Regions from separate parts of the Homo sapiens genome. Here all the other regions are linked to region 7. Evidence: promoter capture Hi-C in 16 types of primary human blood cells and fetal thymus (Javierre and others, 2016). All regions are on one chromosome and are shown on one strand. The core of a region is centred on a gene start or on the middle of the fragment in contact, and the rest is flanking DNA. Distances in the headings are between cores, read along the strand shown. Region 1 overlaps GSPT1 (G1 to S phase transition 1). Region 2 overlaps RSL1D1 (ribosomal L1 domain containing 1). Region 3 overlaps GSPT1 (G1 to S phase transition 1). Region 4 has its middle 3.9 kb from the start of GSPT1. Region 5 holds the start of TXNDC11 (thioredoxin domain containing 11). Region 6 overlaps BCAR4 (breast cancer anti-estrogen resistance 4). Region 7 holds the start of CLEC16A (C-type lectin domain containing 16A).

The links. Contacts are between HindIII fragments. The CHiCAGO score rates a contact against its expected background, and 5 or more counts as called.
Region 1: a contact is called between a fragment that was not itself captured here and the fragment with the promoter of CLEC16A in region 7, in 2 of 17 cell types (naive CD4 T cells and total CD4 T cells). The highest score is 6.0, in naive CD4 T cells.
Region 2: a fragment that was not itself captured here is called in contact with the fragment with the promoter of CLEC16A in region 7 in 9 of 17 cell types (naive CD4 T cells, naive CD8 T cells, activated CD4 T cells and 6 more); the score reaches 11.0 in naive CD4 T cells.
Region 3: a contact is called between a fragment that was not itself captured here and the fragment with the promoter of CLEC16A in region 7, in 3 of 17 cell types (naive CD4 T cells, naive CD8 T cells and neutrophils). The highest score is 6.9, in naive CD4 T cells.
Region 4: a fragment that was not itself captured here is called in contact with the fragment with the promoter of CLEC16A in region 7 in 1 of 17 cell types (neutrophils); the score reaches 5.3 in neutrophils.
Region 5: a fragment that was not itself captured here is called in contact with the fragment with the promoter of CLEC16A in region 7 in 4 of 17 cell types (total CD8 T cells, fetal thymus, naive CD8 T cells and 1 more); the score reaches 8.1 in total CD8 T cells.
Region 6: a fragment that was not itself captured here is called in contact with the fragment with the promoter of CLEC16A in region 7 in 4 of 17 cell types (naive CD8 T cells, activated CD4 T cells, naive CD4 T cells and 1 more); the score reaches 6.9 in naive CD8 T cells.

Annotation. Positions count from the first base shown.
Region 1 is chr16:11,871,470-11,874,488 of GRCh38, reverse strand. GSPT1 (G1 to S phase transition 1) reads left to right here. Exons shown (of 15, transcript NM_002094.4): 15 at 1,318-3,019. The coding sequence ends at 1,370. Among named protein-coding and RNA genes, the nearest start is that of RSL1D1, 21 kb to the right of the region's middle. The HindIII fragment of the contact is 9,746 bases long and covers 1-3,019 here.
Region 2 is chr16:11,845,505-11,848,529 of GRCh38, reverse strand. It overlaps RSL1D1 (ribosomal L1 domain containing 1), which reads left to right. Exons shown (of 9, transcript NM_015659.3): 3 at 724-862; 4 at 1,687-1,835; 5 at 1,928-2,029. Among named protein-coding and RNA genes, the nearest start is that of RSL1D1, 4.5 kb to the left of the region's middle. The HindIII fragment of the contact is 1,049 bases long and covers 829-1,877 here.
Region 3 is chr16:11,897,743-11,900,908 of GRCh38, reverse strand. It overlaps GSPT1 (G1 to S phase transition 1), which reads left to right. Exons shown (of 15, transcript NM_002094.4): 2 at 2,874-2,915; 3 at 3,028-3,069. Among named protein-coding and RNA genes, the nearest start is that of GSPT1, 17 kb to the left of the region's middle. The HindIII fragment of the contact is 4,482 bases long and covers 1-3,166 here.
Region 4 is chr16:11,918,345-11,921,346 of GRCh38, reverse strand. No RefSeq gene overlaps it. Among named protein-coding and RNA genes, the nearest start is that of GSPT1, 3.9 kb to the right of the region's middle. The HindIII fragment of the contact is 2,213 bases long and covers 276-2,488 here.
Region 5 is chr16:11,740,407-11,743,733 of GRCh38, reverse strand. It overlaps TXNDC11 (thioredoxin domain containing 11), which reads left to right and starts at 877. Exons shown (of 12, transcript NM_015914.7): 1 at 877-1,257. The coding sequence starts at 1,004. It overlaps TXNDC11-AS1 (TXNDC11 antisense RNA 1), which reads right to left and starts at 720. Exons shown (of 1, transcript NR_186412.1): 1 at 1-720. RefSeq lists silencers at 375-897, 760-1,429. The HindIII fragment of the contact is 481 bases long and covers 1,616-2,096 here.
Region 6 is chr16:11,821,818-11,824,778 of GRCh38, reverse strand. The region is part of intron 1 of BCAR4 (breast cancer anti-estrogen resistance 4); the gene reads left to right. Among named protein-coding and RNA genes, the nearest start is that of BCAR4, 5.5 kb to the left of the region's middle. RefSeq lists enhancers at 2,131-2,631, 2,632-2,961. The HindIII fragment of the contact is 2,676 bases long and covers 244-2,919 here.
Region 7 is chr16:10,942,793-10,945,834 of GRCh38, reverse strand. It overlaps CLEC16A (C-type lectin domain containing 16A), which reads right to left and starts at 1,271. Exons shown (of 24, transcript NM_015226.3): 1 at 1,038-1,271. The coding sequence starts at 1,117. It also overlaps a transcript of CIITA not described here. RefSeq lists enhancers at 1,199-1,258, 1,479-1,658. The HindIII fragment of the contact is 6,288 bases long and covers 1-1,497 here.

The DNA of each region.
Region 1 (3,019 bases), core at 94-2,593, 930 kb before region 7:
CTTTAAAAAAAAAAAAAAAAAAAAAAAAAAAAAAGCTAACTTGGCTTTTAGGTTTTCCACAAGACCCAATGGGTTTTGTATCCTTTCAGTCCACAGGATTACTACCAGAAGGACGTGTTCACTGCACTGTAGTCAGTGGTGATTGCTGTGCCTTTTCACAGTTACTTAAGGATAGGTTTTGGGATTTTTTTTTTTAGCAGCTTTATTGAGATACAATTTCCATAATATGAAATTGACCTGTTTTAAGTATGTAATTCAATGAATTTTAGTATGTTTACAGAATTGTACAACCATCACCATATACTAATATTAGAACATTTAGAACACCTAAAAAGAAACCTTACACCTGTTCATAATCACCCCTTATTCCCACCTCCACCCCAGGCAACCATTTTTCAATTTGTCTTTTATAGACACTCCATAAATAGAATTATAAATTATGTGGTCCTTTGTCTAGTTTATTTTACTTAGTGTGATTTTGAGGTTCAACCATGTAACATGTTATTTATTCCTTTGTATCACTGAATAGTACTCCACTGGGTGGATATTCCACAAATACGGATATTCCCTTTTCTTATTTTTAATCCAAAGAGGTTTTTTGGCCCAGTGTGGTGGCTCACCCCTGTAATCCCAGCACTTTGGGAGGCCGAGGCAGGCGGATCACCTGAGGCCAAGAGTTCAAGACCAGCCTGGCCAACATGGTGAAACCCTGCCTCTACTAAAAATATAAAAATTAGAATGGGCATGGTGGCAAGCACCTATACTCCCAGCTACTCAGGAGGCTGAGGCAGGAGAATCACTTGAACCCAGAAGGAGGAGGTTGCAGTCAGCTGAAGTCGCACCACTGCACTCCAGCCTGGGTGACAGAGTAAGACTCTGTCTTTATGCAGTGGCTCATGCCTGTAATCCCAGCACTTTGGGAGGCTGAGGCGGGTGGATCACCTGAGGTCAGGAGTTCAAGACCAGCCTGGCCAACATGGTGAAATCCCGTCTCAACTAAAAATACAAAAATTAGCTGGGCGTGGTGGCAGGCATCTGTATCTCAGCTACTGGGGAGGATGAGGCAGGAGAATTGTTTGGGGGGTACGGGGGGAGATAGGTTTTTGATACAGGGAACCATCTCTTTACCAGCCCCCCCAAATAAGACCCTCTTATTAAGACTACCTAAATAGAAGTATCATGGGTTTGGCAGTAAAGCTAGTTAATTAGTAACTTACATTGTAAAAAATATTTTTGTGATTTAAAATAATAAGTTTTAATATCTTATATAGACTTGCTGTTAACTACTGAAAGATTTTTTTAAAATTTCATTTCTAGGTAAGACCATTGCAATTGGAAAAGTTCTGAAACTGGTTCCAGAGAAAGACTAAGCATTTTCTTGATGACCCTGCACAATACTGTGAGGAAAATTGACTGCAGAAGCCTACTTCACACCGCCTTCTCTTATTTTCTGCCCATTGATAAACCTCTCCCCATATTTTGCAAAGAGGAAATTCACAGCAAAAGTCCACATTATGTCAGCTTTCTCATATTGAGAGCTCTGCTATGCCACTGTTGAATTTTTCCCAAGATTCCTGTCCCTAGCCCTCACTTCAAACTCTGCTTCCTTGGACAGATTTGGCAATAGCTTTGTAAGTGATGTGGACATAATTGCCTACAATAATGAAAACCTACAGGAATTTTTTTATTTTTCATTTTCCCCTTAGGCATATTTAGTATTTTTCCCCCAGGCAGATCATTCTGAGTGTGCGAGTGTGTGTGCACATGTTACAAAGGCAACTACCATGTTAATAAAATATTCAATTTGAAATCCTTTTCGGTATTTGAATTGCTTTTGAATAATGTTTTTTATCTGGATGTAACATTGTTGCATTAGCTTTTTAACTTTCCCAAGTAATTGAATACATTTTATTACTTGGACTTTTATAAACTCTTTCCCTACCCACTATAAATGAGACATTCACAGCGTTCAAGTTTGTATTAAAGGAAAGGATTAGTTTGACCCCTTCTTTTGATGGTTAATGCATACATGCAGTTAAATCCCTTTATGCAAATGTGACACTGCTTTACTAGGTCTTTTAGTTATTTATTTATTTTTTTTTTTTTTGCCAATTTATATTGTAACATGATTTCTTGAACACAGTAAGTTGTTTTAAAATAAAAGAACAGCATACTGTAGTTTTTATAAGTAAAGCGTAATGAAATTGTACCCCTAGAGAAAATTCCATTAACTTGTTAAATTAGTGGAATTAACAACAAATAAAGCATGTTTGAGACCTGGCAAAAATTCCTCTGGTAGTATTTATAAATAGAGCTGCATGCCTCTAGTATGAAAACCGTATCAGTTGCAAGTGCCACTTCTACAAGTTACTCAGTTTACTCTTTGTATCAGTAACTTTAAAGGTTGGATGATCCTTGCTGGTTAAAGCTAAATCTCAACCTAGCAACTAAATGAAAATATTTAGAATCATCAGAATCTGAACAGACTAAAATTATCAGCGATAAGCAGAATCAAGCAGGGTATAAGTTTTATCTCAATTATTTGAAATTGACTGAGTTTTCTTAAGTGTAAAGCTGAAATTTGCTAACCATGTTTTTGATGAACCACAGTGCAGCATTGTGTGGGTTTTAGATTGAATGACTCTCTGCTATAATTATCATGACTTTGAAATTTTTCATGAGAATAAATGAGGAATGGAGGCAATTTGTGGGTTTATCCAAAGCCCCCTTGATGTTGAGTGTTGCCATTGATCAAAGATAGCCTCTTTTAGATTGTGATTTCTCTCTAAATAAGATACTTTGTATATTTAATGACAAGTCTCTTCCCTATAATTTTGCTCCTCAGAAAAGAAAAGCCTAGACAGACTGTATTTCCAGTCACAGAACATAAAACTTAATCTAATGGGTGTTTTGTTTTGTTTTGAGACAGAGGCTCACTCTGTCACCTAGGCTGGAGTGCAGTGGCTCGATCTCAGCTCACTGCAGCCTCCACCTCCCGGATTCAAGCAATTTCCTGCCT
Region 2 (3,025 bases), core at 104-2,603, 900 kb before region 7:
GAAGAAAGAGTTATTATGTTTATGGAGCTAAGAGTTTTAAAGAAGGTAAAATTCTGAACCAGGCTTGTCCTGATTAAGCTAGGTTTTTATAGCGCATTACAGTACGTGTGCACATACAGCAACATATGTATAATAATTATATATGCAAGCATTTGGAAGTCTTTAAGTATATTTTAATTCTTGTTGTATCCCAAGTGTTAATTGATATTTGGGCCTGTGTGTTTTTGTGATTTACTTGCCATTGAAAGTGAGTTTTGTTTTTTGTTTTTGTGTTTTGAGACGGAGTTTGCCTCTTGTTACCCAGGCTGGAGTCCAGTGGTGCGATCTTGGCTCACTGCAACCTCCACCTTCCGGGTTGAAGCGATTATCCTGCCTCAGACTCTCAAGTAGCTGGGATTACAGGCACCTACCACCGTGCCTGGCTAATTTTTTATAATTTTAGTAGAAACAGGGTTTCACCATGTTGGCCAGGCTGGTCTTGAACTCCTGACCTCAGGTGATCCATCTGCCTTGGCCTCCCTAAAGTGTGGGATTACAGGCTTGAGCCACTACTACCGGCCATGAAATGTATTTTTAAGTGTTGTTCTTGGTGCATTATTTGCTTAACTAGCATGACTAAAAGTTATTTAAATAACACTAAGTTTATCGCGTATTCTGTGTGATACAAACATGCATAATGTGTGTAATAATGCTTTCCTCGGTTTCTTTTCACGTATTTTGTAGGACCTTGCCTCATAGTATTCGATCAGATTCAGAAGATATCTGTTTATTTACGAAGGATGAACCCAATTCAACTCCTGAAAAGACAGAACAGTTTTATAGAAAGCTTTTAAACAAGCATGGAATTAAAACCGTTTCTCAGGTAGGAAGCCTGGTTAATATTTTCAAGTTATTTAGAGGATTTAATTCAGGCGAAATGGTATCACAAATACATTGCTATATTTCCTAGTATTTTTCTTCTACTTTTCTCTTTTTAATTTAATTTGTGGTGGCGTGTACATCAGTAGCTTTTATATCTTGCAAATTATAAAAGAGGTGGCTCGTGTCATTCCTCTGTACTTCCACAGCATCTTGTTTTTCTCTGATTTGCTGTTTTGTAGTTGGTGTACTTGTCTTTATTACCCTCTGGATCTAAGGTATCTAAGTTTTTTTGTTTGTTTGGAGTCTCGCTCTGTCGCCCAGGCTGGAATTCAATGGCAGGACCTCGGCTCACTGCAACCTCCACCTCCCAGGTTCAAGCTATTCTCCCACCTCAGCCTACCGAATAGCTGGGATTACAGGCACCTGCCATCATGCCCGGCTAATTTTTATATTTTTATAGAGACGAGGTTTCACCATGTTGGCCAGGCTGGTCTTGAATTCCTGAGCTCAGGTGATCCACCCACCTCGGCCTCCCAAAGGGCTAGTATTACAGGCGTAAGCACATACAGCAACATATGTATAATAATATATATATGTTGCCCACCTAGATCTAAGTTGCTTTAGCTGGGGTCTTTTCTCATTTGTCTCAGTGTTCCCAGCATGTAGCGTAGTGCCTGGCACATTTTAGGCCCTCAAGTGTTCATTAAAGTATAGAGGCATGGCTCTAGGACATTTTTAAATCCAAATCCAAATTGTTGCCTAAGTATTTCTTCTCCTTGTTTAGATTCCTAACTTCTTGTTTTTATTCTTCTCTATACTTCCTAGATTATCTCCCTCCAAACTCTAAAGAAGGAATATAAATCCTATGAAGCCAAGCTCCGCCTTCTGAGCAGTTTTGATTTCTTCCTTACTGATGCCAGAATTAGGCGGCTCTTACCCTCACTCATTGGGAGACATTTCTATCAAAGAAAGAAGTAAGTTTCTTAGTAATGACTGGACTTTAGCAGCATGAAGCTTCTAGGTGTGTATGCATTGTGTTCTGAATGCCTGTGTGTTTATTTTGTAGAGTTCCAGTATCTGTAAACCTTCTGTCCAAGAATTTATCAAGAGAGATCAATGACTGTATAGGTGGAACAGTCTTAAACATTTCTAAAAGTGGTTCTTGCAGGTAGGTAAAAGGCATTCATGTGTGCCTCTTTTAATCTTGTATTTGACAATGATTTTATATATACTTATTCGTTTTGTTTTGTTTTTTGTTTTTGTTTTTTTTTTTTGAGATGGAGTCTTACTCTGTCTGCCAGGCTGGAGTGCAGTGGCACCATCTCGACTCACTGCAAGCTCCGCCTCCTGGGTTCACGCCATTCTCCTGCCTCAGCCTCCCGAGTAGCTGGGACTACAGGCGCCTGCCACCACGCCCGGCTAATTTCTTTTTGTATTTTTAGTAGAGACAGGGTTTCACCGAGTTAGCCAGGATGATCTCGATCTCCTGACCTCATGATCCGCCCGCCTTGGCCTCCCAAAGTGCTGGGATTACAGGCGTGAGCCACTGCACCTGGCCTTTTTAAAAAGATTTTGTTAATGGCTCCAGATCCTTTTTTAAAACTAAAATCTATTCCTCAGAAGTGATCAATTCTCGGGTCAGGTGCAGTGGCTTATGCCTGTAATCCCAGCACTTTGGGAGGCCTAGGCAGGAGGATCGCTTGAGCCCAGGAGTGCAAGACCAGCTTGGGCAACATAATGAGACCCTCTCCCCCAGCCAATTACAGAAAAATCAAGAACATTAGTCAGGTGTGGTGGTGCATCCCTGTGCTCCCAGCTACACAGGAGGCTGTGGCAGGAGGATCACTTGAGCCTAGAAGGTCAAGACTGCAGTGAGCCATGTTCTTGTCACTGTTCTCCAGTCTGAATGACAGAGCAAGACTGTCTTTAAATGAAAAAAAAAAAAAGTTCAGTTCTCTAGAACAATGTTGTCTGATAGCACTTTCTACTGTGATGGAAATGGCCTGCATCTGTGCTGTCTCATACAGTAGGCACTATTTGTATGTAGCTATTGAGCACTTGAAATGTGGCTACTGTGTTAGAAGCTGAATTTTTAGTTAATTTAAAATAGGCACATGTGGCTAGTGGCTGATGGTCACTGCATTGGACGGGGCAGCTCCAGATA
Region 3 (3,166 bases), core at 391-2,890, 950 kb before region 7:
ACTACAGGTGTGAGCCACCATGCCCAACCCATTTGCAACTTACAATCCATTGTAAGTTGAGGAGCCATCTGTATTGTAAATCTAATAGTTGGTGCCAGGAACTAAGTGGTCAGGTGTAAGTACTGTTTTGTTTTGAAAAGCTGTTACAGTTAGTGATACACTTGAGAGTGGTGAGGAAGCCCACCACACCCGTCATTTTCCTGCCTTAAGATACGCAGTACATCATAACTGTGTGTCCGTCAGAGCTTAGTTTACTTGTACACTGATTTTCAGCAGGGACTATCTGAGGAAGGGGAAGATGGCACTTGCATAACTTGGAAATGCCTGCAGTTGATTCTGATGTGCCTGTATGTTAGATGGTAGTGATTACAGGATCTGTTTCCTAAGGCTTTTGGTGGGAATGAGCTAGCAGTCGGCACTTAGGGCTCAATAAAAATTAGTTAAAGCAAATTGCTACCCCCTCCATCCCCCACTCCCTACACAATATGGATTTGTGAGTACTTTTATCCTTGTCTGGCCCATAATAGATACTCAATACATATATATATGTATTCATTTTTATTAATTTTTTTTTTTTTGAGACGGAGTTTCATTCTTGTCCAAGCTGGAGTGCAGTGACGTGATCTTGGCTCACTGCAACCTCCACCTCCCGGGTTCAAGCGATTCTCCTGCCTTGGCCTCCCGAGTAGCTGGGATTACAGGTGTATGCCACACCCAGCTAATTGTTTTGTATTTTCAGTAGAGACAGGGTTTTGCCATGTTGGCCGGGTTGGTCTTGAACTCCCGAACTCAAATGATCCCCCCGCTTCCGCCTCCCAAAGTGTTGGGATTACAGGTGTGAGCCACCGTGCCTGGCTGATACTCAATACATATTGATAGGATTGAGTTGGAGTAGTTACATAGCAGATGGAGACACATTTGTTGAATACGCCAGGAGTTCTTTAACTGACACTAAACAAATTATTCTCCCATTTCCTCCCATAAACTCCTCAACAATCCTCTCAGGTAGATGGTATATCATTTCCACAATTTCAGTGGAATAAGTGCAGGCACAGCTTGTAATAAGCCAGGAGTTAAACCTAGGAGTCAGCTCAGTTCCAGGCTCTGAGAAGTACCCCATGCAGTCACCTCCTTCTTAGGGTGGCCTGTGAACTTGATACTCTCAGTACTACCTGGCTTCCTCTGAAAACTGAGTAATTTTTCCTTACCTTATCCTTAAACTTTTCTTGAAAATGGAAAAGCAAAAAAAAGTTAATCTGTATTGTGTTGAAGTACAGTTTCTGCCTCCTTCCAAACCAGGTTCAAATGCGTTTCCCCCCTGTTTGTTAATGTCCTGCTCATCCCACAGCTTGGGGTCATCTTAGACCTTTTACTCTCCCTTTCTCCCAACTCCTGTCAGGTGTAGCCCCCATCCCCTCCTAGTTGTATTGCTTGGTTGTCTCCATGGCATGCTTTCTTGCAGTGGTGATGTGGGTCTTCCTGCCTGTGGGGTCTTGCCCACTCTAGTTCATGTAGTTTAAGCTGCAAGAAAAAGATCTTCCTAAGTGACAGTCTGAGCCTGTCACTTAAAAAAAAAAAGAAAACAATTTGGTTGTCCTTTACCTATCAGGGACAGGAAATTACTTTACTCAACATTTGATGCTATTGAAGGTTGGGCCCAAAACACTTTCTCTTGACTCTTACAGGTATTGATCCTTTCCGGGCAATGATTTTACAGGTTACAAATTCATTATTTTTTCATACTTGCTGTGCATGATTCATATGATTTAATTCTTTAGTATCGTTTTCTGTCGTGGAGATTCTTTAAAGCAGGGGCACGTTCATATTGGAGTATAATTTAGGTTTGTCTGTATCTGACAAACTAAAATCCAAAAAGCAGACTTAGATATTTGGTTATTAGTATGTATTTCTCCTACATCTCTTCCAGTAATGTCATAAGTAAATTTGCAGTGTGGCAACTGGAAACTGGATTGTTGCTTGGTTTTAGAGTTCTAGTATAGGAAAAAACTGGCATCATTGGAATCACCTTTTCTGCAGATATTTTTAATGGCTTATATATGTTTCAGGACTTTATACACATGTCATTTATCTTATAGGTATCTAATTTATTCAGGGATTTTGATAACATGAGTATGGAATATTAAAAAGGGCTAATCACAGGCTGGATGCGGTGGCTCAAGCCTGTAATCCCAGCACTTTGGGAGGCCGAGGTGGGCAGAACACCTGAGGTCGTAGTTCAAAACCAGCCTGACCAACGTGGCGAAACCCCATCTCTACTAAAAATACAAAATTAGCCGGGCATGGTGGCATGCACCTGTGATCCCAGGTACTCAGGAGGCTGAGGCAGGAGAATCGCTTGAACCGGGGAGATGGAGGTTGCGGTAAGCCAAGATCGTGCCATTGCACTCCAACTCCAGCCTGGGCAACAAGAGTGAAACTCAGTCTCAAAAAAAAAAAAAAAAAAAAAGGGCTAATCACAGCTTTCTTGGGCTGGGTTACCTAGAGAGAATCACGGGAAGTAGATGTGTATTTGTTGAGCACATCTCTAATTTGATCTGTGCTGAGCTGCAAATTACTTTGACAGTATCTGTGAAGAAAAGGTTTATAAAGCAAATCAAAAGAATAAGCATGTTTTTATGAATACATTGAAACTACTGAAAATGTTTCAAAATTGGCTGTAATTAGTAGAATTTTGAAAAGTAGGTTAAGCAGAGACTTCTAACTTGAAGGCCTGAGTTAGCTGCCATTGATCTGGGGTTATTGATTGAGGCTTGTGTCGTGTTATTGAACTTCTGTTTTTACTGCATATTAAAAGATAAGTGAAATGGATGGATAAGTATCAATTTTTAATAGAACTTCTTTCTGTTAAACAGCACCTGTGGAATCCTCTCAAGAGGAACAGTCATTGTGTGAAGGTAATGATGTACTCTTTGAAAGTCTACTTGAGAAAACATTAGGTTGTCTATATGGTGTGTAAAGCTAGATACTGTTTGGTAAATATATATTATATTTCAATCTCTTGTCTAGGTTCAAATTCAGCTGTTAGCATGGAACTTTCAGAACCTATTGGTAAGAAAATTTCTGACCATATTAATACAGTAATATGAAACTCTTTCACTCTCAAGATTTAAGGTGCATTATGTAAGTTACGATTATTGTAATGCCT
Region 4 (3,002 bases), core at 133-2,632, 980 kb before region 7:
TCCCAGGTTCAAGCGATTCTCCTGCCTCAGCCTTCCAAGTAGCTGGGATTACAGGCGTGTGCCACCACGCCCAGCTAATTTTTGTATTTTTAGTAGAGACAGGGTTTTGCCATGTTGACCAGGCTGTTCTCGAACTCCTGACCTCAGGTGATCTGCCTGCCTCGGCCTCCCAAAGTGCTGGGCATCAGCCACCGCACCCTGCCTAATGATGCAACTCTTGATGGGCTCCTAGAAGACGACTGGTCACCAGAAAGGCCAAGTCATGATTAGAAGCTTGGAACTTTTAGCCCCACATCCAACCTCTCGGTGGGCAGAGGGGCTGAAGGTTGAGTTAATCAGCAACGGGCAATGATACAATCAGTCATGGCTATGTAGGGAAGCCTCCATAGAAACCCAGAAGGACAGGGTTCAGAGAGCTTCTGGGTTGCTGAACACGTGGAGGACCCTTGAGGATGGCACACCTGGAGACAGAATAGGAACTGTATGCCCCTTCCCAGCCCTGTGCATCTCTTCCACGTGGCTGTTCCTCTGTATCCTTTGTAATGTCCTTTATGGGTAACTGTAAGTAAAGTGTTTCCTTGAGTTCTTTTTTTTGAGACGGAGTCTTGCTCTGTTGCCCAGGCTAGAGTGTGGTGGAGCACTTGGCTCACTACAACCTCTGCCTCCCATGTTCGAGCGATTCTCCTGCCTTCAGCTTCCTGAGTAGCTGGGAATACAGGCACCCACCACCACAACCGGCTAATTTTTGTATTTTTTTGGTAGAGACAGGGTTTCACCATGTTGGCCAGGCTGGTCTCAAACTCCTGACCTCAGGTGATTCGCCTGCCTCGGCCTCCCAAAGTGCTGGGATTACAGGCATGAGCCACCGTGTTTGCCCTGTTTCCTTGAGTTCTGTGAGCCACTCTGGCAAATTCCCTGAACCCATGGAGGGGGTCATGGGAACCCCCAATTCATAGCCAGTTGGTCAGAAGCACAGGTCACAATGTGGAACCTGTTATTGGCATTGGAAGTGGGGGCAGTCTTGTGGGACTGATCCCTTAACTTGTGGGATCTGTCCTAACTCTGGTTAATGTCAGAATTGAGTGAAATGATTGCTTATCCTGTTGGTGTCTGTTGAAGAATTGGTTGGTGGTGGGTAGAAACTCCCTCACTTACTGGTGGAGTACAACTGGCCCTTAAACAATGTGAGCCTGAACTGCGAGGGTCCCACTTACACATGGATTTTTTTTTTCAATCAAATGAGGATCAAAAAGACGGGATTCTCAGGATGCAGGAACTCAAGTGTAGGGAGGGCTGACCTTTCATACACACAGTATAGATTGTGGGATTTTAGTATGGTTGGATTTTTGTATCTGAAGGGCTCCTGGAACTAATCCCCTTCCTCTACCCAGAGAGGACTGTACTCTGTGTTGAGCGGTGACTTGTGTGTGAGAGTAGGAAAAACTCTGATTTTTCCTAAGTTTTCTAAATTATTAGTCCTGGGGTGGGGTGTGGTGGCTCATGCCTGTAATCCTAGCACGTTGGGAGGCTGAGGCAGGAGGATCACTTGAGGTCAGTAGTTCCAGATCAGCCTGGGCAATATGGTGAAACCCTGTCTCTACTAAAAATAGAAAAATTACCAGGGGGTTGGGGAGGGGGGGTGGCGGGCACCTATAATCCCAGCTACTCAGGAGGCTGAGGCAGGAGAATTGCTTGAACTTGGGAGGTAGAGGTTGCAGTGCGTGAAGATTGCTCCACTGCACTCCAGCCTGGGCAACAGAGCAAGACTCCATCTCAAAAAATAAAATTAAATTAAATTAAAATAGCTAAGTGCGGTGGCTCACATCTGTAATCCTAGCACTTTAGGAGCCCAAGGCAGGCAGATCACTTGAGATCAGGAGTTTGAAACCAGCCTGGCCAACAAGGTGAAACCCTGTCTCTACTAAAAAAAAATACAGGCCAGGCGTGGTGGCTCACGCCTGTAATCCCAACAGTTTGGGAGGCCAAGGAGGGCAGATCACAAGGTCAAGAAATTGAGACCATCCTGGCCAACATGGTGAAACCCCGTCTCTGTTAAAAATACAAAAATTAGCTGGGCGTGGTGGTGCACACCTGTAATCCCAGCTACTCAGGAGGCTGAGGTGGGAGAATCGCTTGAACCTGGGAGGTGGAAGTTGCAGTGAGCTGAGATCATACCACTGCACTCTAGCCTGGGCGACAGAGCGAGACTCTGTCTCAAGAGTCTCAAGTTATTTAAAAAATAAATAAATAAATAAAATTATTAGCCCTATGTGTCAGCAGTCTTAAATGAGTATCAAAGGACAGTATCATCCCAGCTAAATTGATTAAGCACCTTTTATACACCGGGCATTACACTAGGCAGTGGAAATGTAAAGAAGATTAAGGTAAGACCCTGCCCTCAAGTCGCACAACTTACACACAACTTAGCACAACTAACAAGAAAGACTTTTCCCTTTTCCGCTGGAGCTCTGTTTGGCAGGTCAAAGCTTTGGAAAACCAATGGAGTGGATTTTTTCCTGAATATCCATAATTATCCTATTCAGAGACAAGGAAATTAATGACATCAACTGCTTTTCTAAGCAGCAGTCTGAGCAGTTTCTGCCTTTGTCCCTAGAAAAAGTACCAGGCAGAAGGAAACTCTGCTAATTCAATTAGATGTGAAGAACTAACCTATGAGAAAGTGATCATTCAGTGCTGTAGGAGTGCTACATGGAGGAGAGTAGTATTCAAAGACAAAATGCTTAGAGAAGGATGTGTAGTTCATTATTTGAGTCAGCTGATTGTGTTGACATTTTCTTAGGGGTGGGTGGGTGGGGAGTGAAAATCTGGAAAGAGAAGGCATTTCATTTAGAACACATTGTATTTTTTCTTGTGAATATAAGATGAAAATCTTTTATTCAATAGCAATACAGGTCTCGCATAAATGAAGTTCTAATTTTCATAACAGTTGTTAAGTTCTCTGTAAATCTGACAGTCACTTAATACCAACTTTAAAATGGACA
Region 5 (3,327 bases), core at 607-3,106, 800 kb before region 7:
ATTTGCACGTGGGTCACATAGCTGACCTGTGGCAGAGGTGGCGTCTCAGCTACTGGCCGTTAGCTGTGCCTTCTGTTTGTGGCATAACACCATATTGCCTTAATGCCCTCGAAGTTTTATTTGTCTAGTTTGTTGTTATTGACATTGGAGGACAAGTCCTTTTTTTTTTTTTGAGACAAGAGTCTCTCTCTCTCTCTCCCCCAGACGGGAGTGCAGTGGCGCCATCTCCACTCACTGCAACCTCCGCCTCCAGGGTTCAAGCAATTCTCTGCCTCAGCCTCCCAAGCAGCTAGGATTACAGGCGCCCGCCACCACGCCCGGCTAATATATTTGTATTTTTAGTAGAGACGAGGTTTCACCATGTTGGCCAGGCTGGTCTTGAACGCCTGGTCTCATGTAATCTGCCCGCCTTGGCCTCCCAACGTGCTGGGATTACAGGCTTGAGCCACCGCGCCCGGCCGTGTTTTTTTTTTCTTCAGTTAAGTTGGGATAAAAAACGGCACCTACGTGCTTCGGGGCCTGTAGTGAGAATGGTGGACACGATTATTGTCGTTACGGCTCCTAAAACCCAGCGCGGCGAGAGCAGACTACAGCGGTGTCAAGGTTCCAAGTATTCCCCGCGGGCCTTATCCCAAGGGAGCAGCTTCTCCACGCCCCGCGACGGCGCCTGCGCAGACTCCGTGAGCGGGGTCGTGACCGGTGGGGCCAAGACTGGGCTGCGGGCGGGGAAGGCTTCCGTGCATTTACGTAGGGTGCAGGGCGTGGCCCGTTGGGGGCGGGGATTTGGGCGGTGTCGGTGCCCGCCCGGACTCCGTGAGCGGTGGGCGGAGCTGCGTGCTCTGGGGTGTGAGGTGGGGCGGACCCCGCGGCGGCGGCGCGGCTGACGTGGAGCGTCCGGGTTAGCGGGTGCGGCGAGCTGCGGGATTGGGGAGCAACGGGCCGGGCCGGGCCTTCGGGCCCGAGGCGGCGGCGGCGGTATAAAGCCGGCGACTGGGAGCATGTAATGTCGGAATGCGGAGGCCGCGGCGGCGGCAGCAGCAGCAGCGAGGACGCCGAGGACGAGGGAGGGGGCGGCGGCGGCCCCGCGGGCTCAGACTGCCTCAGCTCGAGCCCGACCCTGGCCACAGCGTCCTCGGCGGGCCGGCTCCGTCGCGGGCTGCGTGGCGCCTTCCTCATGGCGCGCCAGCGGCCGGAGCTGCTCTGCGGGGCCGTGGCGCTCGGCTGCGCGCTGCTCCTCGCCCTCAAGTTCACCTGCAGGTGAGGCGGCCCGGACCCTGGGGCCCCGCTAGGGCGCTCCCCTTGCTCTGCCGCCTGGAGCCTGCAGGGCCGGGTCGCAGCGGCCTCAGCCGGGGAAGTCGGGCCTGACCTTGCCCAGGACGGCTGACCCCTCCCGGAACCTGCGGCCACGGCTTCCCACCTTCTCCTCGCCCCGGCCCGCCCGCGGACATTATGGCGAGGCTTCCGGGTGGAGCCCTGCGCCCTATCGTCCCGCTTTAGTGCCGAGGGAGGCGGGTCGGGGGTGCTCCTCACCTGTTGGAGTCACTAGGGGTGGACCTGTCACTTCGGCCCGGGCTGTAGGACCCTCATTTCTCACCGATTTCATTCCCCTTAAGCTTCAGGTGTAGTGATCCACAACCTTGCGAGAGTTCCAGACCCCTTTTAGAATTCCCGCACTCATTGATCTAACGATTATTTTTATTTTGAGACGGAGTCACGCATTGTGTCCCAGGCAGGAGTGCAGTGGCGCGATCTCGGCTCACTGAAACCTCCGCCTCCCGGGTTCAAGGGGTTCTTCTGCCTCAGCTCCTGAGTAGCTCGGATTACAGGCGCGCGCCACCACGCCTGGCTAATTTTTGTATTTTTAGTAGAGACAGAGTTTCACCACGTTGGCCAGGCTGGTCTCGAACTCCTGACCTCACGTGATCCACCCGTCTCGGCCTCCCAAAGTGCTGGGATTACAGGCGAGAGCCCCGCACCCGGCCTGATCTAACGATTATTTATCTGCACCTACTATGTGCCGGACGCTCGTCCGGGTGAACTTTTTGCTCCCTTGAGTGGATGGGACAGTGAACAAGTAAATATAATTTTTTAAAGCTTCAGTGCTATGCAGGGCATAGAAACGATGGCGGTGGGGAAAGACTTCCTAAGGAAGTGACATTTGAAGCTTATACAAAAAGGAGAAGGGACCAGCGCTGGGAAGATCCCGGGGGAGCGTGTCCACGGTAGAGCGAACAGCAAATGCAGAGTTTCTGAGGCTGGGCAAGCTTGGTGTTTCCCTGGAATTGATAAAAAGGCCTGACAGTAGGCTGGGGTGTAGGGGGTAGGAACATGAAAGTTCATGTGTGTCTTTTCAGGAATGTACACACATACAAAATTTGCTGTATATTTCAGGTGTACTTCTGGTCTCCCAAATCCACAGTGGGTCTTTTGGGATTCCAGTTTATAAGATCTGTATTGCTACTATGATATCTGTGATTTCACCTCGGAACATTTTTGAGTTTATTTAGCACGATATGTGGCCAGTTGTCAAAGAGGTGTCAAAAGATCGGGGATTTTAGTGGAAAGATAAATTATAATAACTCTCAGTGAGCATTTTCCATAGGCCAGGTACTGTCAGCAGGGTTTCTCCGTCTTGGCACTGTTGATATTTTGGGTCAGATAATTCTGTGTTGTGGGGGCTGCCCTGACTACTGTAGGATGTCTAGCAGCATCCCCGGCCTCTACCCACTAGATACCAGTAGCACACCCCACAAGATGTAACAACTACAATGGCTTCAGACATTGTTAGATGTCCCCTGGGAGCAAAATTGCCTGCTTGGGAACCACTGTTTCCATGAAGCATTTATTCATTTAGTACATAATTGAGAGCCTAGTATGGGTGTCATTTAAATCTTACAATCCCCATTAAAGTTTGAATATACTGTTATCTTTCCCAGTGCACAGATGAAGGAGTCCAGCCTTCGTGATGTTTCAGAACCTGCTCCAAATCACACCTACGTGATAAGGGGCTGAGCTGGAATTTGAATCCTTTATTGTCAGGACCTCCTAGATTCTTAACCTTGTACTTTATTCTTGTCTCCCACAAGGACAGTATACAAAGTATTTTACAAGGTAGAGTGTTGCGAGGTGACATTTAGGTTCAAATTAGGAAGAGAGGTTTCCCCCTCCAGGGGTGAAGTTTATTTACATCGGTTTGTTAAAGTCTAGAAATAATGGTTAATGTTTGTTCTGAGACAGCATGGCTTAATTGATACAGAAGTCCTTTGAGATTGAAAAGGAAGGAAGAGAGTAAATCCAGTTACTAGAGTAGGCAGAATGAGATCCTTT
Region 6 (2,961 bases), core at 332-2,831, 880 kb before region 7:
ATTAATCCAATTAATTAGAAGCCAAGCCTTTTTCCACAGGGCCTGTGATGTGTTGATAAAATGCCACACAACCATTTCTCAGTGAAAAGCCCAACCGGGACTTGAGTTATGTTGGTGGCTATGGAGTTCTGCAATCCACAATTGATGTTCTCTAATAACCAGTGACCTTGAGTGAACTGTCCCCAAGGCAAGAGCAACCACAGCTGCGGGGAGCGTTTGGCAATCACTATCCCCACCCAAGCTTCTCCCTTGGTAAACTTTGTACCTACTGGGTCCTCATGCTGGTGGAAAAGAAAATACATTTCCTTCTCGTGACTGTCCCCTCTCCTTCAAGTCAATGTTCTTAATCTTTGACCTTGGATTTCATCACTTGTCACTTGTTTTTGTTTGCTTCTTCGGGATTTTTTTTTTTTTGAGATAGAGTCTTGCCATGTTGCCCAGGCTGGAGTGCAGTGGTGTGATCTCAGCTCACTGCAACCTCTGCCTCTGGGGTTCAAGAGATTGTCCTGCCTCAAGCCTTCTGAGTAGCTGCAACTACAGATGTGGGCCATCATGCCTGGCTAATTTTTGTTTTTGTTGTTGTTGTTGTTTGTTTTTTTGAGATGGAGTCTCACTCTGTCACCCAGGCTGGAGTGCAATGGCGTGATCTTGGCTCACTGCAACCTCCGCTTCCTGGGTTCAAGTGATTTTGCTGCCTCCGCCTCCTGAGTAGCTGGGATTACAGGTGTGCGCCACCACACCCAGCTAATTTTTATATTTTTAGTAGCGACGGGGTTTCACTATGTTGGCCAGGCTGGTCTCAAACTCCTGACCTCAAGTAATCTGCCCGCCTCAGCCTCCCAAAGGGCTGAGATGACAGGCGTGAGCCAATGCACCTGGCCTAATTTTTGTATTTTTAGTAGAGAATGGATTTCACCATGTTGGCCAAGCTGGTCTCAAACTCCTGACCTCAAGTGATCCTCCTGCCTCGGCCTCCCAAAGTGCTGGGGTTGCAAGCATGAGTCACTATGCCTGGCCTTGAATTTCATCACTTGTACCTAAAGTATAAAAACATAGATTTACCATCAAATAGTAATGGTGCTTCAGGAAGAAGTTAAGCCTACTTCAAGTACCTTTGGCCTTGTACTTCAGTTTCTTCTTCTTCTTCTGTTTTTGAGACAGAGTTTTGCTCTTGTTGCCCAAGCTGGAGTACAATGGTGCAATCTTGGCTCACCACAACCTCTGCCTCCCGGGTTCAAGCGATTCTCCTGCCTCAGCCTCCCAAGTAGCTGGGATTACAGGCATGTGCCGCCACGCCCAGCTAATTTTGTATTTTTAGTAGAAATGGGGTTTCTCAATGTTGGTCAGGCTGGTCTTGAACTCCCGACCTCAGGTGATCCACCTGTCTTGGCCTCCCAAAGTGCTGGGATTACAGGCATGAGCCACTGCACCCAGCCATTTTCTTCTTTTTATTATTTTTATTTTTTTTTTGAGACGAAGTCTCATTCTTGTCACCCAGGCTGGAGTGCAATGGTGCGATCTTGGCTCACTGCAATCTCTGCCTCCCGGGTTGAAGTGATTCTCCTGCCTCAGCCTCCTGAGTAGCTGGGATTACAGGCTTCTGCTACCACACCCAGCTAATTTTAGTATTTTTTGTAGAGACAGGGTTTCATCACGTTGGCCAGACTGGTCTGGAACCCCTGACCTCAGGGAATCCACTTGCCTTGGCCTCCCAAAGTGCTGGGATTACAGGCATGAGCCACTGTGCCCAGCCTTCTTTTTTTAGAATTGAGATGGGGCCTTTCTATCTCCCAGGCTGGAGTGCAGTGGCACAATCAAGGCTTACTGAAGCCTCAGCTCCCAGGGTATCTGGTACTACAGGCACGTGCCACCATGCGTGGCTAATTTTTTGTATTTTATTTAATTTATTTATTTATTTTTTGTAGAGACAGGGTTTTGCCACGTTCCCCAGGCTAGTCTTGAACTCCTGGGCTCAAGCGATCCACCTGCCTCGGCCTCCCAAGCGTGAGGATTCATTTTCAGAAGCAGTCTTTTTGGATGTCTTGAGATAGCTTCATGAAATTTCACTTGTAAACCAGAAGTCTCAGAAGGTCTCAATCACTGTAGAGGTTTATTTTAGCTAACATTGAGGACATGCCCAGGAAATAGACAGAAGCCACAAGAGGATCTGGAGTCAGCACTTTTTCCAAAGAGGATTTAAAGGGCTTCAATATTTAAAGGGAAAAAGTGGGCAGGAGGGGAGAGGTGAAAAGAAAAAATGGAGAAGGATAGGGTAGCATTGTAATGAGGCTTTCAGCACTCACTCAATCCACGTGTTGCATGTGAAAAGGAAAGAGAGGAAGAACAATCAAGTCTTTCTCTTGAACTTGGGCAATCTGTACTTGACCTGTAGATAAACATAGAAATCAAATATGCGGCCGGGTGCAGTGGCTCACGCCTGTAATCCCAGCACTTTGGGAGGCCGAGGCGGGTGGATCACGAGGTCAGGAGATCGAGACAATCCAGGCCAACGTGGTGAAACCTGTCTCTACTAAAAATACAAAAAATTCGCCAGACGGGGTGGCAGGCGCCTGTAATCCCAGCTACTTGGGAGGCTGAGCCAGGAGAAATGCTTGAACCCGGGAGGCAGAGGTCGCGGTGAGCCGAGATTGCACCATTGCACTCCGGCCTGGGCAAAAAGAGCGAAACTCCGTCTCAAAAAAAAAAAAAAAAAAAATCAAATACGCATGGGTCTCAGCGTGGGTGGGTCAGCAATTTATAGTCTCTTCTTGTCTCCTACCTATGAAGATAAGCTATTAATTTACATTGTCAGGGTAAGAAAGTCCCCGTTGTGAGGCGTGTGGCCTTCTATCTTATAGCTATCTGTTTAGGAACAAAACGAAAGGCAGATTTTGTTGTGTGTGACTCGATTTCCAAGCTTAACTTTTCCCCTAGGCATAGTGAGTTTGGGGCTGAGATTTT
Region 7 (3,042 bases), core at 22-2,521:
GTGGAGAAGCACTCAATGAAAGCAAGAGAAAGATGTGATGGATAGGAACTGGGATGGGGGGAGCACGTTAGGTAGGGTGGTCTGGGAAGGCCTCGCTGAGCTGATAATAAACACAGCTACCACTACTGGCCACCTACTATGTACCTACTGGGTCAGTCACCTTCCATTTCCATTACAATGTTCACGATCCCCATTTGCAAATGGGAATCTGGAGGCTCAGAGAGGTGAAGTAATTTGCCCAAGGTCACACAGCCAGTAAATGGTGGTTTCAGGATTTGAACGCAGGTGTGGCTGCAAAGCCAGCCTCTTAATTTCTGCACTCCTGGTCCCAAGACCCTATCTGCCACCTGTCCTCCCCCAGAGCTGTAGAGTCATTCCCTCCTCAGAGGTCTCTATTTTTCATCATCCTCCCCAATCGCCCCAAAATCCTGGGTCTCAGCGTGCATGCCCCCAGCTTAGACTCCCCTCGGAAAATAATCTGTTCTTTTATAATAATTAATGCCGTTTAATGAGCAATTGTACGTGTTCTGAGCTTAACGTTCATTCTCTTATCCAACCAACTCTCAACACAATAGCAGGAAGCAGGTGCTGTCACTCTACTCTTTTTACAAGTGGGGAACCTGAGGCCTACATTCACACAGATAGATTCGGACCCAGATCTGCCCGACTCCAGGACCCAGGCCTTTGACCCTCTAAGCTGTTCAGTTTAAGAAGTACCCCGCCAGGAAACTTGGTGGACACCGTCAAGAACAAAGTCTGTGTCCATAAACTGAAATCGCATCCTCTCGCTTTACAGGTGGGGATACGGAGACTCTGAGAAATTAAGCGACTTGTCCAAGGTCACACAGCCAAGAGCGACGGGGTCAGGGTTCGAACCCAGGCGCCCTGACTCCCGAGCCCTCGCTCTTAACCACCACACGGGCTTCCCCGGGCGCCCTTCGCCGCCGCTCTCACGCCTCCTAGAGCCCCGACCCGGAGCTCGGCGCCCCGTCCCCCTGTCCAGCCCCGAGGCCTCCCGCTACGCCCCCCACACTCACTTGAGGTGGTCCAAGGAGTGGATGTTGCGGGAAGTCTTGCCATGGCCCCCGCCCACCCAGCTCCGCGAGCGGCCAAACATGTCGGCGGCCCCGACCCGTCTCTCGTCTCACGGTCTCATGCCGGACCAGCAGAGCGGCCCAGCGCCCGCGGCGGTAGCACAAGCGGAGGATGCGGCGGCGGAGGCGGTGGAGGAACCGCGAGCCGCCTTCCTCCCCGGCCCACAGCCCAGCACTGACATTCAGCCGGAACCGGCCGTTCGACCGCCGCGCTTTACGGCCGCCGCCGCGTGGGGCGCTGGGAAATGCAGTTCACCCGCGTGGCCTTCGGCGGCAGGACTCCGCGAACGGACTACAAGGCCCGGCATGCATCGTGCAACCGCGGGCCTACGGCCATCCACAAAAGGCGGGGCGAGAGGAGGAGCGACCGCAGAATCCTCCGGGTGGGCGGGAATTGGAAGCTTTGGGCGCAGTCCCGGAGAGGGAATCGGCGTAGATGGGTCAAGGAAAGTCACCACTGTAGTAACAATTACTAGATTTATAATAAGAATAAGAATAGTATTGGATGGTGTATACTATGCAAAGCCACTATCCTAAGGGCTTTACATATTAAGGTATTTAATTTTCACAACCATCCTATGAATTGGGTACTATTATCGAACCTATTTTATCATCAGGGAAACGGAGTCACTGAGAGGTTGACTTACCCAAGATCATGCAGTTAACAAGTGGCAAAACCAGGGTTCATAACCACGCACGCACCCTTATTTTTCATTCCCTTTATAAACCAAAACGGCACTAGATAACAACCTTATTTGTCCTGACAGCCTTTTTCTTTTTCCACTTCAATTAAGTGTGTGTGTGTGTGTGTGTGTGTGTGTGTGTGTGTGTGTGTGTGTGTGTGTGTGTTGGAAAAGGCTGGATGCAACAATGCACCAAACTGAACATTTTGTACTTCCAGAGGATTCCTCTGGTCTTCAGCCAGAATCCATGCTATTTCCCAAAGTACCACGTTAAAATGAAAAAGGAAACACCCAACTTTCTGCATGAGCCAGAATATATCTAACTTCTACCCTGGATTAGAAGTGGTAAGTTCAGTGTGGGCAAGACTTCTCAAGTTTACCATCCATTCATTCATTCAGTCACTTCTACATATCAACCTTATTAAAGGTCCACTGTGTCCCATTAACTCTGCTCAAGAAAGAACTGGGCCAGAGGCCAATGTTCTCCCCAGTGCCTAGCACAAGGTTTGGCACATAGCAGGTGTTTAACAAATATTGGTAGAGTGCATGAATGAGTAAAGGTTTGTTTCACCTTCAGCAGTTGGAGAAATGGATAAGAGTGGAGAGTTAATGGTTTGTCCTGTAATTCATATAGAGTGGGGCAAGACAAAGTCATGGAGCAAAAAAGAACAGGATCTGGCCTCCAAAGAAACACACCCAGGCTCAGAAATGTAGGATCCCTGGGCTCGTATTTTTCATCTGTAAAAAGTACGCACATACATACTACACTGCCTTGTATACCTCCGATTAAGCGATGCATGTAAAATACTCAGCTCAGTGTGGCCTGAGATTTAAAGGTTTCTTGAACTGCTTTGGAAGGCTCTTTGGGCGAGATCATGTTTTCCTGAAAGACATGCAACGGTTACCCAAGAGCAGGGGAACCAGTGGGTGGGAGAGACTCACTTTTCTGTGTACTTCACGGTTGTTTGAATGTTTAGCCATGTGTATTATTGCTTTTAAACATGATTCACAAAGTAAAAAGAAACAAAAAGCATCCTTATGGTTGAAGATCTGAACTACCTCGGAATCTCTTTATTCAGGTGTTCCTTAACTCTAGGATGCAGGTTCCGTAGTGGGCGGACCTTCCAGCAACCAGAGTTTGGAGAAGCGAAGGGGACACTGGTGGATCTCCACCATGAAAATTGGCGCTTTGGGAATGTCCAAAATTTCCAGGGCAACCGTCCGTCGCCCCTCCCCGACCCCGCCTCCTTTTAAAGGAGAAACGG